Regions from separate parts of the Homo sapiens genome. Here regions 1, 2, 4 and 5 are each linked to region 3. Evidence: promoter capture Hi-C in human tissues and cell types (Jung and others, 2019). All regions are on one chromosome and are shown on one strand. Each heading gives the region's core, a stretch centred on a gene start or on the middle of the fragment in contact. The rest is flanking DNA. Distances are from core to core; before and after follow the strand shown.

What was found. The method cuts DNA at HindIII sites, captures the fragments that hold promoters and counts their contacts. A contact is called where the count stands out against the background at its distance.
Region 1: the fragment with the promoter of ITGA2B here is called in contact with the fragment with the promoter of LSM12 in region 3 in 1 of the 25 tissues and cell types used here (spleen).
Region 2: a fragment that was not itself captured here is called in contact with the fragment with the promoter of LSM12 in region 3 in 2 of the 25 tissues and cell types used here (dorsolateral prefrontal cortex and spleen).
Region 4: a fragment that was not itself captured here is called in contact with the fragment with the promoter of LSM12 in region 3 in 2 of the 25 tissues and cell types used here (dorsolateral prefrontal cortex and lymphoblastoid cells).
Region 5: a contact is called between a fragment that was not itself captured here and the fragment with the promoter of LSM12 in region 3, in 1 of the 25 tissues and cell types used here (aorta).

The regions. Positions count from the first base shown.
Region 1 is chr17:44,388,201-44,390,937 of GRCh38, reverse strand. ITGA2B (integrin subunit alpha 2b) reads left to right here and starts at 1,289. Exons shown (of 30, transcript NM_000419.5): 1 at 1,289-1,652. The coding sequence starts at 1,465. RefSeq lists an enhancer at 1,073-1,132. The HindIII fragment of the contact is 17,139 bases long and covers 29-2,737 here.
Region 2 is chr17:44,469,709-44,472,408 of GRCh38, reverse strand. All of the region lies in intron 2 of GPATCH8 (G-patch domain containing 8), which reads left to right. Among named protein-coding and RNA genes, the nearest start is that of GPATCH8, 32 kb to the left of the region's middle. The HindIII fragment of the contact is 3,729 bases long and covers 1-2,700 here.
Region 3 is chr17:44,065,323-44,068,107 of GRCh38, reverse strand. It overlaps LSM12 (LSM12 homolog), which reads left to right and starts at 1,437. Exons shown (of 5, transcript NM_001371445.1): 1 at 1,437-1,644. The coding sequence starts at 1,521. RefSeq lists silencers at 1,355-1,474, 1,765-1,904. The HindIII fragment of the contact is 14,418 bases long and covers 1-2,785 here.
Region 4 is chr17:43,749,742-43,752,441 of GRCh38, reverse strand. No RefSeq gene overlaps it. Among named protein-coding and RNA genes, the nearest start is that of SOST, 7.7 kb to the left of the region's middle. The HindIII fragment of the contact is 3,915 bases long and covers 1-2,700 here.
Region 5 is chr17:44,531,615-44,534,314 of GRCh38, reverse strand. No RefSeq gene overlaps it. Among named protein-coding and RNA genes, the nearest start is that of FZD2, 25 kb to the left of the region's middle. RefSeq lists enhancers at 1-396, 397-901. The HindIII fragment of the contact is 6,008 bases long and covers 1-2,700 here.

The DNA.
Region 1 (2,737 bases), core at 40-2,539, 320 kb before region 3:
TTAATTACACGCCTCCCATGTACTTGACACTGGGAACTCAGCAATGAAGAAGGCCCAGACCAAAGTTCAGGCTTTTAGCTTCCTGTCCTATAAAGGATAAGATTCTTAACTCTAGGCTGAGGTAGTAAATTACGAGGGGACTTCAAAATGGTACAGGGTGGTTGAGCAGGATACGGCAATGGTTAAGTTTGATCAGAAAATAGAAATCAAAAGGAAAATGTGGCTATGGTTACCCCTAGCGGACCTCTTAAATCTTCCTGAGAACCTGCTTTTTTGGGAAGGCATGAGTGCCAGTAAGACTTGGCACTCCTCCTCTTCCGCTTACCGAGAGAAAATGACTTTGCCTTTCTGCTCAAAACTCATCCCTTCACTTTGTCACCCTATGTTTGCATCTTCCATCCTTAGTGTGTGTTTCCATCCAGTCTTTCAGCAATACACGTACTACACATTGGACTCTTGGGTAGTCTCTAGGGCTGTAGCAAGGAGCCTTGCTCCCAAGGGACTCATTTACACAATCCTGTGAACGGACCAAGAGTAAACAGTGTGCTCAATGCTGTGCCTACGTGTGTTAGCCCACGCGGCCAGCCTGAGGAGTCAGGGAAGGCTCCCCTAGGCAAAGCCCCCAACCAGAATCAAGTCTTAATGGTTAAAGAGCTCCATCACCCAAAAAGGATTGAGGGCCTACCTTCAACTGAACAGCTAATGCATAATCTCAGAAACTGTGAGTCAAAATTCCCTGGAATAACTCCACTTTATCCCCAATCTCCTTGCCACCTAGACCAAGGTCCATTCACCACCCTGTCCCCAGCACTGACTGCACTGCTGTGGCCACACTAAAGCTTGGCTCAAGACGGAGGAGGAGTGAGGAAGCTGCTGCACCAATATGGCTGGTTGAGGCCGCCCAAGGTCCTAGAAGGAGGAAGTGGGTAAATGCCATATCCAAAAAGATACAGAAGCCTCAGGTTTTATCGGGGGCAGCAGCTTCCTTCTCCTTCCCCGACCTGTGGCCAAGTCACAAAGCACCACAGCTGTACAGCCAGATGGGGGAAGGGAGGAGATTAGAACTGTAGGCTAGAGTAGACAAGTATGGACCAGTTCACAATCACGCTATCCCAAGCAGAAAGTGATGGTGGCTTGGACTAGCACGGTGGTAGTAGAGATGGGGTAAAGATTCAAGAGACATCATTGATAGGCAGAACCAATAGGACATGGTAATAAACTATTCTCAGGAAAGGGGAGGAGTCATGGCTTTCAGCCATGAGCATCCACCCTCTGGGTGGCCTCACCCACTTCCTGGCAATTCTAGCCACCATGAGTCCAGGGGCTATAGCCCTTTGCTCTGCCCGTTGCTCAGCAAGTTACTTGGGGTTCCAGTTTGATAAGAAAAGACTTCCTGTGGAGGAATCTGAAGGGAAGGAGGAGGAGCTGGCCCATTCCTGCCTGGGAGGTTGTGGAAGAAGGAAGATGGCCAGAGCTTTGTGTCCACTGCAAGCCCTCTGGCTTCTGGAGTGGGTGCTGCTGCTCTTGGGACCTTGTGCTGCCCCTCCAGCCTGGGCCTTGAACCTGGACCCAGTGCAGCTCACCTTCTATGCAGGCCCCAATGGCAGCCAGTTTGGATTTTCACTGGACTTCCACAAGGACAGCCATGGGAGGTGAGCCGTAAGGGAAGTTGGGGTATTGGGAGAGAGCAGGACCCCTCCCCATCACTGCTTCTGGGGGCTTCGAGTTTCCCATTTGCGATAGCAGTTGAGCAAGGTGACTTGTGGGGCCTATTCAGGTTGATTTCTTGTCAAGAATGTTGGGGTCCAGGGGACTGGCTCAGGTGAAGGTATAAGGGCAGGGCACATGTGGGCTGATGGGCACTGAAAACTACAGCAAGAACAAAGGGAAGACAAGAGTTGATGCTTTATTTTTTCCCCAAGGGTCAGTTGTATGAACCACTCCACCCTCAACACCTTGAAATGCAGAGAGGAGGCCGGGCGCGGTGGCTCATGCCTGTAATCCCAGCACTTTGGGAGGCCGAGGCGGGCAGATCACCTGAGGTCGAGAATTCGAGACCAGCCTGACCAACATGGAGAAACCCCGTCTCTACTAAAAATACAAAAAAAAAAAAAAAAAAGAGACCAGGCACAGTGGCTCACACCTGCAATCCCAGCACTTTGGGAGGCAGAGGTGGGCAGATCATGAGGTCAGGAGTTCAAGACCAGCCTGGCCAATATGGTGAAACCCTGTCTCTATTAAAAATACAAAAATTAGCTGAGCGTGGTGGCACACTCCTGTAGTCCCAGCTACTCGGGAGGCTGAGGTAGGAGAATCACTTGAACCCGGGAGGTGGAGGTTGCAGTGAGCTGAGATCATGCCACTGCACTCCAGCCTGGGTGACAGAGTGACACTCCGTCTCAAAAAAAAAAAAATTAGCCGGGCGTGGTGCCGCATGCTTGTAATCCCAGCTACTCGGGAGGCTGAGGCAGGAGAATCGTTTGAACCTGAGAGGCAGAGGTTGTGGTGAGCCGAGATCATGCCATTGCACTCCAGCCTGGGCAACGAGAGCGAAACTCTGTCTCAAAAAAAAAAAAAAAAAAAAAAGAAAGGAAATGTGGAGAGGAGCACATGTCCTAAATTGATTTGCAGAACTAAAGTTGTCTACCCTCCCGCACCTTGCATTTCTGTTCCATTTCCCTCATCTCCATCAACATTATAAATATTTGAAAAGAAGCAATAGGTCATTAATGATTAG
Region 2 (2,700 bases), core at 37-2,536, 400 kb before region 3:
CACATGAGGCTAATGCTATTTTACCTCTCATAATGTCCAGGACTTTTTCTGCCACATATAGCGAGAACAGTATCAGAAGGCAGTCTAATTGAGTAATCATTGTTGAATAATCTCATTCAGTGGGAGTAGAATTGATAATATGCCTTATTTATTAAGTAGTGCTACCTTCTTCACTTAAAATAGCAAATAGTATATAGTACTCAGGCTGGATATTTAATTTTTTTAAATAAATGAATGTTCAGAAATGTATATTAGTAATTACACTTCTAATGAAAATTTACTTCTGAAAGATAAATATATGCATTATTTGTGATGAGATAGTTTAGGTTGTAGGAGAGAACTTCATGGCCTACATTGTATTAGGTAGAAGTAGGGCACAGGATCTGGGAGAATAAACAAAGATGCAAGAAAAAATAAGAAAAAAAAAAAGAAGTATTGACACACAAGATAAGAGGGATCTTATTTCTGTTGCCTGATCATTTGTGAGTAAAATTTTAAGTGTTTTTCTCTTTTTTCAACTTTTTTTTTTTTTTTTTACTTTTTTTGGTCACAGAAAATTTTAAGTTTTAAGAGAAACTCCTACAGTGATTGGCATCAAAGTAGGTAGTGTTCCCTCCCTCCCACCAAACAAAAGAAGTCCCTTATCACCTGAGGAATGCCCACTAAATAATAAGTAAATATTTAATTACATGGCTGGCTGGCTATATTAAGCTGTTTTGTTTTTAGGGGAAAATGGTGTTACTTCTAACACAGAAAGAGTGCTGAATTAAAATCTTTCTCTGCAGCAATATCTATTGAGAGGTGCTGACTGTTTTGCTACAGCATGCAACTCAAAAGTGGCTGAAAATATGCAGCTTTGGGAGTCTACAGATCATTGCAGGAGCTAAAGGTCTAGTCATTTTTTTTTAACCAAAGGTAATCTGCAGCAGCTGGTAACCGTGGAGGTCTCTGCACAGGTTTGTGCCAAGAATATGCCTGTGTGAAGGGTTATTGTGAGTATAGGATTAAGGTCTTTTTATTTTGTAGTAGGCTAAATTTGATGCAAACCAGCAAGATGGGAAATGAGACATGAAGATGCAATAATGTATTATGCTTTTAGTGAACTTCCGAAGCTTAGATTTGTTAGTGAGATATTGGTATTTCAATTTTATTAGGTAAATGTTGAAAATATATCAAAATCCAGTATTTGTAAAGCATTTAATAATATTTTTTGAAGTTTAATTTTCCCTTATTTGCTTCAACCAACCAGATATCTTTCAATGAGATTTTTCCTCAAGAATGAAATATCTTTTTAAGAAAATTATATGAGAATTGCTAAACAACTTGATTATCTCTATTAAAAACAAGTTGAAAAGTGTGAACATTTTATCCCTATTACGAGAAGCTTTGAATTTGAATTTTAAAAATTGTTATTGCTTTATGAGATATTTAGGTCTCAAATGTTATAATTATAACCTCCACTTACTTAAAGACAAAATATTTACAAAACAAAGCTTGATCTAAAGCCATAGCTCCGTCTAGGATTCAATCACAGAAGAATTAATTGGTGTTTTTTAGGATACACGGTCCTTTATGACCTTTATCATAGTTAGAAGATGAGGAATTGGGCGCAGGGGCTCACGCCTGTAATCCCAGCACTTTGGGATGCTGAGGCGGGCAGATGACGAGGTCAGGAGTTCGAGAACAGCCTGACCAACATGGTGAAACCCTGTCTCTACTAAAAATACAAAAAGTAGCCAGACGTGGTGGCACATGCCTGTGCATGTGCTGGGATTACCCAGCTACTCAGGAGGCTGAGGCAGGAGGATTGCTTGAACCTGGGAGGCAGAGGTTGCAGTGAGTCGAGATCACGCCACTGTACTCCAGCCTGGGTGACAGAGCGAGACTCCGTCTCAAAAAAAAAAAAAAAAAAAAGCGCTGGGTGCAGTGGCTCACACCTATAATCCCAGCACTTTGGGAGGCCGAGGTGGGTGGATCACAGGGTCAGGAGATAGACCATTCTGGCTAACACGGTGAAACCCCATGTCTACTAAAAATACAAAACTTAGCCGGGTGTGGTGGCACACGCCTGTAGTCCCAGCTACTCAGGAGGCTGAGGCAGGAGAATCGCTTGAACCCAAGATCGTGCCACTGCACTCCAGCCTGGGTGACAGAGCGAGACTCGATCTCCAAAAACAAACAAACAAAAAAAGATGAGGGATCAGATGGGAGAATGACTTTAAGCTATATAGAAGGCAGAATGCATGCATCATAGACTTAAAACATGTTGTTACTGTTGTGGTTGGAAGTGCAACTACCCATCAGCCGCTAGTCGGTCCTTGCTCTACCTGACTGATTAAAATTCTTTCTTTATGGTTGTCAGGATGACCTAATAGGTTTAAAAATGTAGTGTAAGCTTCAAACTCCAGTTGCTGATGTTTAGTTTGCGCATCTTAAGGATTTGGAAGTATATGTATAATTGGGTTTTGTGATGTTGCATATCTGTCTAGATCTGTGGACTCCACTAGTTCCAAACTGTAATTCTTTATAAGACTGCTGATTTGACATTTAGCAGTGACCATATGTGGACTGCACTAGAAATAATGTGCTTCTTGGAGCTGAATGGTGTAGCATTACTATATGGCTTTTCTCTCTAGTCTTCATTGTGTCATCTGTAGTGAGCTATAGAGTTTTTTTGTTTCGGGAATTTTTACAACTTGT
Region 3 (2,785 bases), core at 188-2,687:
TACTTTTGAACTTTGTTCAGGTTAAGCCGCGCCAAGACTGGCCCTTTGCTTCCCTCTGGACTAGAGAAAGGTCAACCTGTTTCTTATACATGAAGCGAGGATCCAAAATTTCTATAGTGAGCGGTGGGTGGGTTAGCGACAGCCATTGGTGGTAGTAGGGCTTGAAAATGCACGCTCATAGTCCTTTGCATAAGATTAAGAAAACGACTGTTTTGTACATCAGACGGACATTCAAGGGCAGGGGCGCAAAACCCCTCCTCCAAGCCCCTTTTTGTCACTATCCGCTGCTCCTCATTCCTGCCTTTTGCCTGGCTTTCTGGGAGAGAGGGCAAAAAGGGAGAAGGGGAAGTGTCTTGACTTCTAAGAGTGATGGGTGACTAAGGGGGAACTACCATTTATTAAAGACCTAGTACATGCCATGCACTTATACCCGTTACCGCATTTAAACCTCCTAACTATGAGGTAGGTATTATTATGTAACAGAGTATAGCAGTAAATAGCACCGTCCTTGGAAATAGGCAGACTGTTTTTGCTAGTTGTGGAACCGTGGACAAGTTTAGTCTAAAACTTAGTTTATGTAAAAGGAGGACATTGATTCCTACCTCAAAGGGCTGTTAGATGCTCAAGAAGTGACAATACAAATGCCTATGAAGAAACAGGATCAGGTAATTTGCTTGCTCAAGGTCAGGTGATTTAGTAAGAGGCTGACCTCGGATTCTGGTTCCAGCTTATCTAACTCCACAGCCAATGTTCTTTCCACTATCACTCAGTAGTTATAATCATCTTTTTTTGTTTGTTTGTTTGTTTTGAGACAGAGTCTCGCTCTGTTGCCCAGGCTAGAGTGCAGTGGCACAATCTTGGCTCAGTGCAACCTCCGCCTTCCAGGTTCAAGAGATCCTCCAGCCTCAGTCCCCCTAGTAGCTGGGATTACAGGCACGCGCCACCGTACCCGGCTAATTTTTGTATTTTTAGTAGAGACGGGGTTTCACCATGTTGGCCAGGCTGGTCTCGAACCCCTGACCTCAGGTGATCCACCCGCCTCGGCCTCCCAAAGTGCTGGGATTACAGGCGTGAGCCACCGCTCCCAGCCTTATAATCATCTTGTCCAAGTATCGTTAAGTCCTCTGAGGCTCTGATTCCTCATATGCAAAATGGGGTTAACATATTTTATAAAATTCATTCATTAAACTCTTGTGTGGAAGGTGTGCATATAATGGAGACTGCAGCTCCCTCCTCTTTCCCCTTTTCATTCCACGTAGGTCATTTATCCTTAACTTCTAAAATGGACTCTACAAGCACTTAACCGAGCGGACGCAGCTATACAAATACTTTTCAGATTCCCCTTTATTTCCTCTTCTTTCCCACTCCACCTAGGATCCCGCCCCAACCAGCGCCAGGCCACGCCCCGGCGTGTGACGCAAGCACGCTCCGTGCGCGCCGTCGCGTCGCGGCGCTCACTGGGGGCCCGGCTTTCGCCCGCTGCTGCCGCCGCCGCCGCCGGCCGCGGCTGCACTCCCAAGATGGCGGCTCCTCCGGGCGAGTACTTCAGCGTTGGGAGCCAGGTGTCGTGCCGGACGTGCCAGGAGCAGCGGCTGCAGGGCGAGGTGGTAGCCTTTGACTACCAATCCAAAATGCTGGCTTTAAGTATCCTTCCCTGCGTGAAGCCCGAGTCCGGGCCGGCGTGTAGGTGCGGTGGTCGGGGGGTGGGGGACGACGGCGGCGGCTGGGGCTCTCTCCGGGCCTAGGGGCGACCGGCTACCGCGGCGCCCGGGGCGCATGCGCACGGCCCTGAGCTCCCCTCCCCCTCCCGCGGGCCCTTCGGTCAGCTTTGGGGATCCTGTCTCTCTCTCTTTGCGGGAGCTGGGGCTTTACCGAGGATCAGTGGGTGGAGGAGGGCTTGACACGGGGATGGCTTTTTGGGGGGAACGTTATGAGAGGGGACACAGTAATTAGGAGAGGGGGTGGTGGTGGGAGGGGGCTGATGGATTGGAGCCCGGATGGAAAGGAGGGGCGGGTGAAATATTATGGGGAGGGGTGTTTAGGGTAAGGAACTGCTGGTAGGGCAAAGGTATGGAATTTAGGAGGGCATGTGCACTGATGGGATTTCGTCCAAGGAAGGGCGGTGGGATGGTGACCAAATTGGTCCTTGCCTGTTTTGGGGGAGAGTAAGTTCAGGGCAGAGTTTGTATCTGAGCTAGGGATAGTGGCTTGTTTCGCTGATGCGTGTGTATGTGTGGTGGGGGGGCTGTGCTGATTTTTAGGCTTCTCGGTCATTTGGAAGTTGCTGTTTAGGGGATGTTTGCACTGGAAACCTGTTCCAGAGAGGGCTTGCCAGGGGCTTATGTGGTTTGGGGATGTGTGAGTTACAGGTGAAAGAGTGAAGTTCTCATGCTGCCTTGATCAGTCCAGCACATGGAGTCCTTTTACGTAGTAGCAGCCTCCCTTTTGAAAGTAGCAATGTTAAACTGATTGGAAAAGGTGGCCTGCTTCTTTGGGGTGGAAGTGACTTCTGAATTACTCCAGGAAACTCAGTCTTGGAAATGAAACACTTCCTTGTTGGGATAAATGTGCCACGGCTTCCCTTTTTATGTGAGCCACAGGTGGGTTTATTGGAATTTTTTTTTGGAGGAGTAATTTTTTATGGCATCTTTTTTTTTTTTTTTTTTTTAAGATGGAGTCTCGCTCTGTCGCTAGGATGGAGTGCGGTGGCGCAATCTCGGCTCACTGCAACCTCCGACTCCCTGGTTCGAGCGATTCTCCTGCCTCAGCCTCCGGAGTAGCTGGG
Region 4 (2,700 bases), core at 76-2,575, 320 kb after region 3:
TCTATTGCCCAGGCTGGAGTGCAGTGTCACGATCTCGGCTTACTGCAACTTCTGCCTTCCCGGATTCAAGTGATTCTCCTGCCTCAGCCTCCAGAGTAGCTGGGATTACAGGTGCGTGCCACCACGCCTGGCTAATTTTTGTATTTTTGATAGAGACGGGGTTTCACCATGTTGGCCAGGCTAGTCTCGAACTCTTGACCTCAAGTGATCTGCCTGCCTCGGCCTCCCAAAGTGCTGGGATTACAGGCGTGAGCCACCACACCCAGCCCCAGGTTGGTGTTTGAATCTGAGGAGACTGAAGCACCAAGGGGTTAAATGTTTTGCCCACAGCCATACTTGGGCTCAGTTCCTTGCCCTACCCCTCACTTGAGCTGCTTAGAACCTGGTGGGCACATGGGCAATAACCAGGTCACACTGTTTTGTACCAAGTGTTATGGGAATCCAAGATAGGAGTAATTTGCTCTGTGGAGGGGATGAGGGATAGTGGTTAGGGAAAGCTTCACAAAGTGGGTGCTGCTTAGAGATTTTCCAGGTGGAGAAGGGGGCTTCTAGGCAGAAGGCATAGCCCAAGCAAAGACTGCAAGTGCATGGCTGCTCATGGGTAGAAGAGAATCCACCATTCCTCAACATGTACCGAGTCCTTGCCATGTGCAAGGCAACATGGGGGTACCAGGAATTCCAAGCAATGTCCAAACCTAGGGTCTGCTTTCTGGGACCTGAAGATACAGGATGGATCAGCCCAGGCTGCAATCCCATTACCACGAGGGGGAAAAAAACCTGAAGGCTAAATTGTAGGTCGGGTTAGAGGTTATTTATGGAAAGTTATATTCTACCTACATGGGGTCTATAAGCCTGGCGCCAATCAGAAAAGGAACAAACAACAGACCTAGCTGGGAGGGGCAGCATTTTGTTGTAGGGGGCGGGGCACATGTTCTGGGGGTACAGCCAGACTCAGGGCTTGTATTAATAGTCTGAGAGTAAGACAGACAGAGGGATAGAAGGAAATAGGTCCCTTTCTCTCTCTCTGTCTCTCTCTCTCTCACTCTCTCTCTCTCTCTCTCACACACACACACAGACACACACACACGCTCTGTAGGGGTCTACTTATGCTCCAAGTACAAATCAGGCCACATTTACACAAGGAGGTAAAGGAAAAGAACGTTGGAGGAGCCACAGGACCCCAAAATTCCCTGTTTTCCTTGAATCAGGCAGGACTTACGCAGCTGGGAGGGTGGAGAGCCTGCAGAAGCCACCTGCGAGTAAGCCAAGTTCAGAGTCACAGACACCAAAAGCTGGTGCCATGTCCCACACCCACCCACCTCCCACCTGCTCCTTGACACAGCCCTGTGCTCCACAACCCGGCTCCCAGATCATTGATTATAGCTCTGGGGCCTGCACCGTCCTTCCTGCCACATCCCCACCCCATTCTTGGAACCTGCCCTCTGTCTTCTCCCTTGTCCAAGGGCAGGCAAGGGCTCAGCTATTGGGCAGCTTTGACCAACAGCTGAGGCTCCTTTTGTGGCTGGAGATGCAGGAGGCAGGGGAATATTCCTCTTAGTCAATGCGACCATGTGCCTGGTTTGCCCAGGGTGGTCTCGTTTACACCTGTAGGCCAAGCGTAATTATTAACAGCTCCCACTTCTACTCTAAAAAATGACCCAATCTGGGCAGTAAATTATATGGTGCCCATGCTATTAAGAGCTGCAACTTGCTGGGCGTGGTGGCTCACACCTGTAATCCCAGTACTTTGGGACGTCAAGGCGGGTGGATCACCTGAGGTCACGAGTTAGAGACTGGCCTGGCCAGCATGGCAAAACCCCATCTTTACTAAAAATACAAAAATTAGCAAGGCATGGTGGCATGCACCTGTAATCCCAGGTACTCGGGAGGCTGAGACAGGAGAATGGCTTGAACCCAGGAGGCAGAGGTTGCAGTGAGCCAAGATTGTGCCACTGCCCTCCAGCCCTGGCAACAGAGCAAGACTTCATCTCAAAAGAAAAAGGATACTGTCAATCACTGCAGGAAGAACCCAGGTAATGAATGAGGAGAAGAGAGGGGCTGAGTCACCATAGTGGCAGCACCGACTCCTGCAGGAAAGGCGAGACACTGGGTCATGGGTACTGAAGGGTGCCCTGAATGACGTTCTGCTTTAGAGACCGAACCTGAGCCCTGAAAGTGCATGCCTGTTCATGGGTGAGAGACTAAATTCATCATTCCTTGGCAGGTACTGAATCCTTTCTTACGGCTGCCCTCCAATGCCCAATTTCCCTACAATTGTCTGGGGTGCCTAAGCTTCTGCCCACCAAGAGGGCCAGAGCTGGCAGCGAGCAGCTGCAGGTAGGAGAGATAGGTACCCATAAGGGAGGTGGGAAAGAGAGATGGAAGGAGAGGGGTGCAGAGCACACACCTCCCCTGCCTGACAACTTCCTGAGGGCTGGTCATGCCAGCAGATTTAAGGCGGAGGCAGGGGAGATGGGGCGGGAGAGGAAGTGAAAAAGGAGAGGGTGGGGATGGAGAGGAAGAGAGGGTGATCATTCATTCATTCCATTGCTACTGACTGGATGCCAGCTGTGAGCCAGGCACCACCCTAGCTCTGGGCATGTGGTTGTAATCTTGGAGCCTCATGGAGCTCACAGGGAGTGCTGGCAAGGAGATGGATAATGGACGGATAACAAATAAACATTTAGTACAATGTCCGGG
Region 5 (2,700 bases), core at 122-2,621, 470 kb before region 3:
CACCACATTGCCCAGGCTGGCCTGAAACTCTTGGGCTTAAGCCATCCTCCTGCCTCCCAAAGTGCTGGGATTACAGGCCTGAGCCACCATGCCAGGCCTCTTGCCCCAAACAATCGTTTGCTGGAAGATTAAATGAGAAAAATAGTGCTTTGCCCTCCAGCCGATTGAGGCAGAAGTGAGAGCTGGGTGGGGCCAGTGAGTTTTGTCTGGAGAAGTTGGAATAGGATGGAAGAGGCGCAGGCTGTGGGTGGCGGGAGGCTCTCTGTAGGGCGAGATGGAGGTTTACAGCTGGGCTGCCACGGAATTTGGAAACTAACATCAGCATAAGGCCTGGATGATTCATTGCTGCAGCGAAGCTTCTGGGGTTCAAAGAAGGAAGGTCTAGAGGGCTGGAGCCTGCAGAAAACGCTTCAAGGAGCAGCGTGAGGTTTGAAAAGCCAGCGAGCAGCGGGTGATGTGGAGCTCCAAGCTCATTGCTTGGAGAAAAGGGCTGGTTGGGACAAAGGGTCTGATTGGAGTCAGGCCCGCTGCCTCTGGCGGGTGGCCTCCCTCGCTAGCGGTAGGCCTCGCGGGAGAGGGGAGCATCTGAGGATTGCATTTTAGGGCCACAGCGCCCTCTGCTGGACATGGGGACCTGGGGCAGCAGCACGAGTGGGAGCAGGTGACAAAATGTGCGGGAAAAGGTCTGTGCCAGATAGGGTCCTTCCCATTCCCAAGCACCCCTAGGAGGATCACACGATTGGAATCCCTTAACAAGTATAGGAAGTTTATAGAAAATGAGCAAGTCTTGAAGTGTAGCCACCTATTGGTTCATCTTTATTTGCTCACAGTTGGTGTAGATGAACGTGTACTACATTGAGTTTATTTCATCTCGTAATCCTTTGGAGTTATAGGACTGTGGGTTAGAGGCAAATAATAATAACAGCTAATGCTTGTATAGCCCTATGATGTGCCAGGTGCAATTTTATATTATTTTACAGATGAGGAAACTGAGGCACAGAGAAATTTAAATCACCAGCATAACATGACATAGCTGACATAGAAGAGCCAGTATGACTGCAGAGTGTGTACACAAAACCACCACTTCCTACTATTTCTCTGAAATAATCAAGGCCATTTTCCCCTTTACATGAGGTATGGTAAGTCCTGGGTGCTCCATGAATCTAGACCTTCCTAGTTCTGTTCCTGATTCTCAGACCGCTGCTAATTTTTTTTTTTTTTTTTGAGACAGGGTCTTGCTTGATTGCCCAGGCTGAAGTGAAGTGGCATTATCTTGGCTCACTGCACCCTTGACCTCCCTGGCTCAAGCAATCCTCCTGCCTTAGCCACTCGAGTAGCTACAGGCGTGTGCCACCATGCCTGGCTAATTTGTGTATTTTTTTAGGGACAGGGTTTTGCCATGCTGTTCAGGCAGGTCTCGAACTCCTGAGCTCAAGCAATCTGCCTGCCTCAGCCTCCCAAAGTGCTGAGATTACAGGCATGAGCCACAGCTCCTGGCTTAAAGAATTTTTTTTTTTTTTAAGTCAGGGCTGGCTGGGCGCAGTGGCTCACGCCTGTAATTCCAACACTTTGGGAGGCCAAGGCGGGCAGATCACTTGAGGTCAGGAGTTCGAAACCAGCCTGGCCAACATGGTGAAACCCCGTCTCTACTAAAAATACAAAAAAATTCGCTGGGCGTGGTGGCATGTGCTTGTAATCCCAGCTACTCAGGAAGCCAAGGAAGGAGAACTGCTGGAACCTGGAAGGCTGAGGTTGCAGTGAGCCAAGATCGCACCACTGCACTCCAGCCTGGGTGACAGAGCAAGCCTCCATCTCAAAAAAAAAGTCAGGGTTGACATTTATTGGTTTGTCATGCATGTCGGGGAGAAAAAGCCATCTCTTTTCTTCACCCATCACAAGGTTCATAGCTGACACCACTATAATAAAAGACAGATTAACAAAATAAAAGCATAACAAATTTACTTAACCAAAGTCTTATGTGATATAGGAGGCTTCAGAAATGAAGACCAAAGACCTAGGGAAAATAGTATATTTTTATGCTGAGTCTGAAGAAAGAAATGGATAGCTGTGGAAAAACATGATTAGAGGAAAAGGGGTATGATCTGATGGAAATAAACTGGGAGAGAACTCAGGAAGACCTATCTTTTCAGGTTCTTTTTTTTTTTTTTCCCGAGACGGAGTCTTGCTCTGTCACCCAGGCTGGAGTGCAGTGGCGTGATCTCGGCTCACTGCAACCTCCACCTCCCGGGTTGAAGCAATTCTCTTGCCTCAGCCTCCTGAGTAGCTGGGATTACAAGCACCCGCCACCACACCCAGCTAATTTCTGTATTTTAAGTAGAGACGGGGTTTTACCATGATGCCCAGGCTGGTCTTCAACTCCTGACCTCATGATCTGCCCACCTCAGCCTCCCAAAGTGCTGGGATTACAGGCATGAGCCACCGTGCCCAGCTTTTCAGGTTCTTTTTGTGTGCGTGTGCCTCTATATGACTTTCCTTCAACCTCCTCCCCCACCATTCCCCAGGTATGGTGCAGAACATCTGTCGCATGTGGGTCTTATGACCTAATTTCAGAGGAGATAGGTCAGAGAATTATTTTATAGATAGTGCTCACACAGAAAGGCCAGAGAAGGTCAGTGTGACCTCTGGAGGCTGAGGTGGGAGGATCGCTTGGACCTAGAAGAGTGATCGCCAAGGTACCAT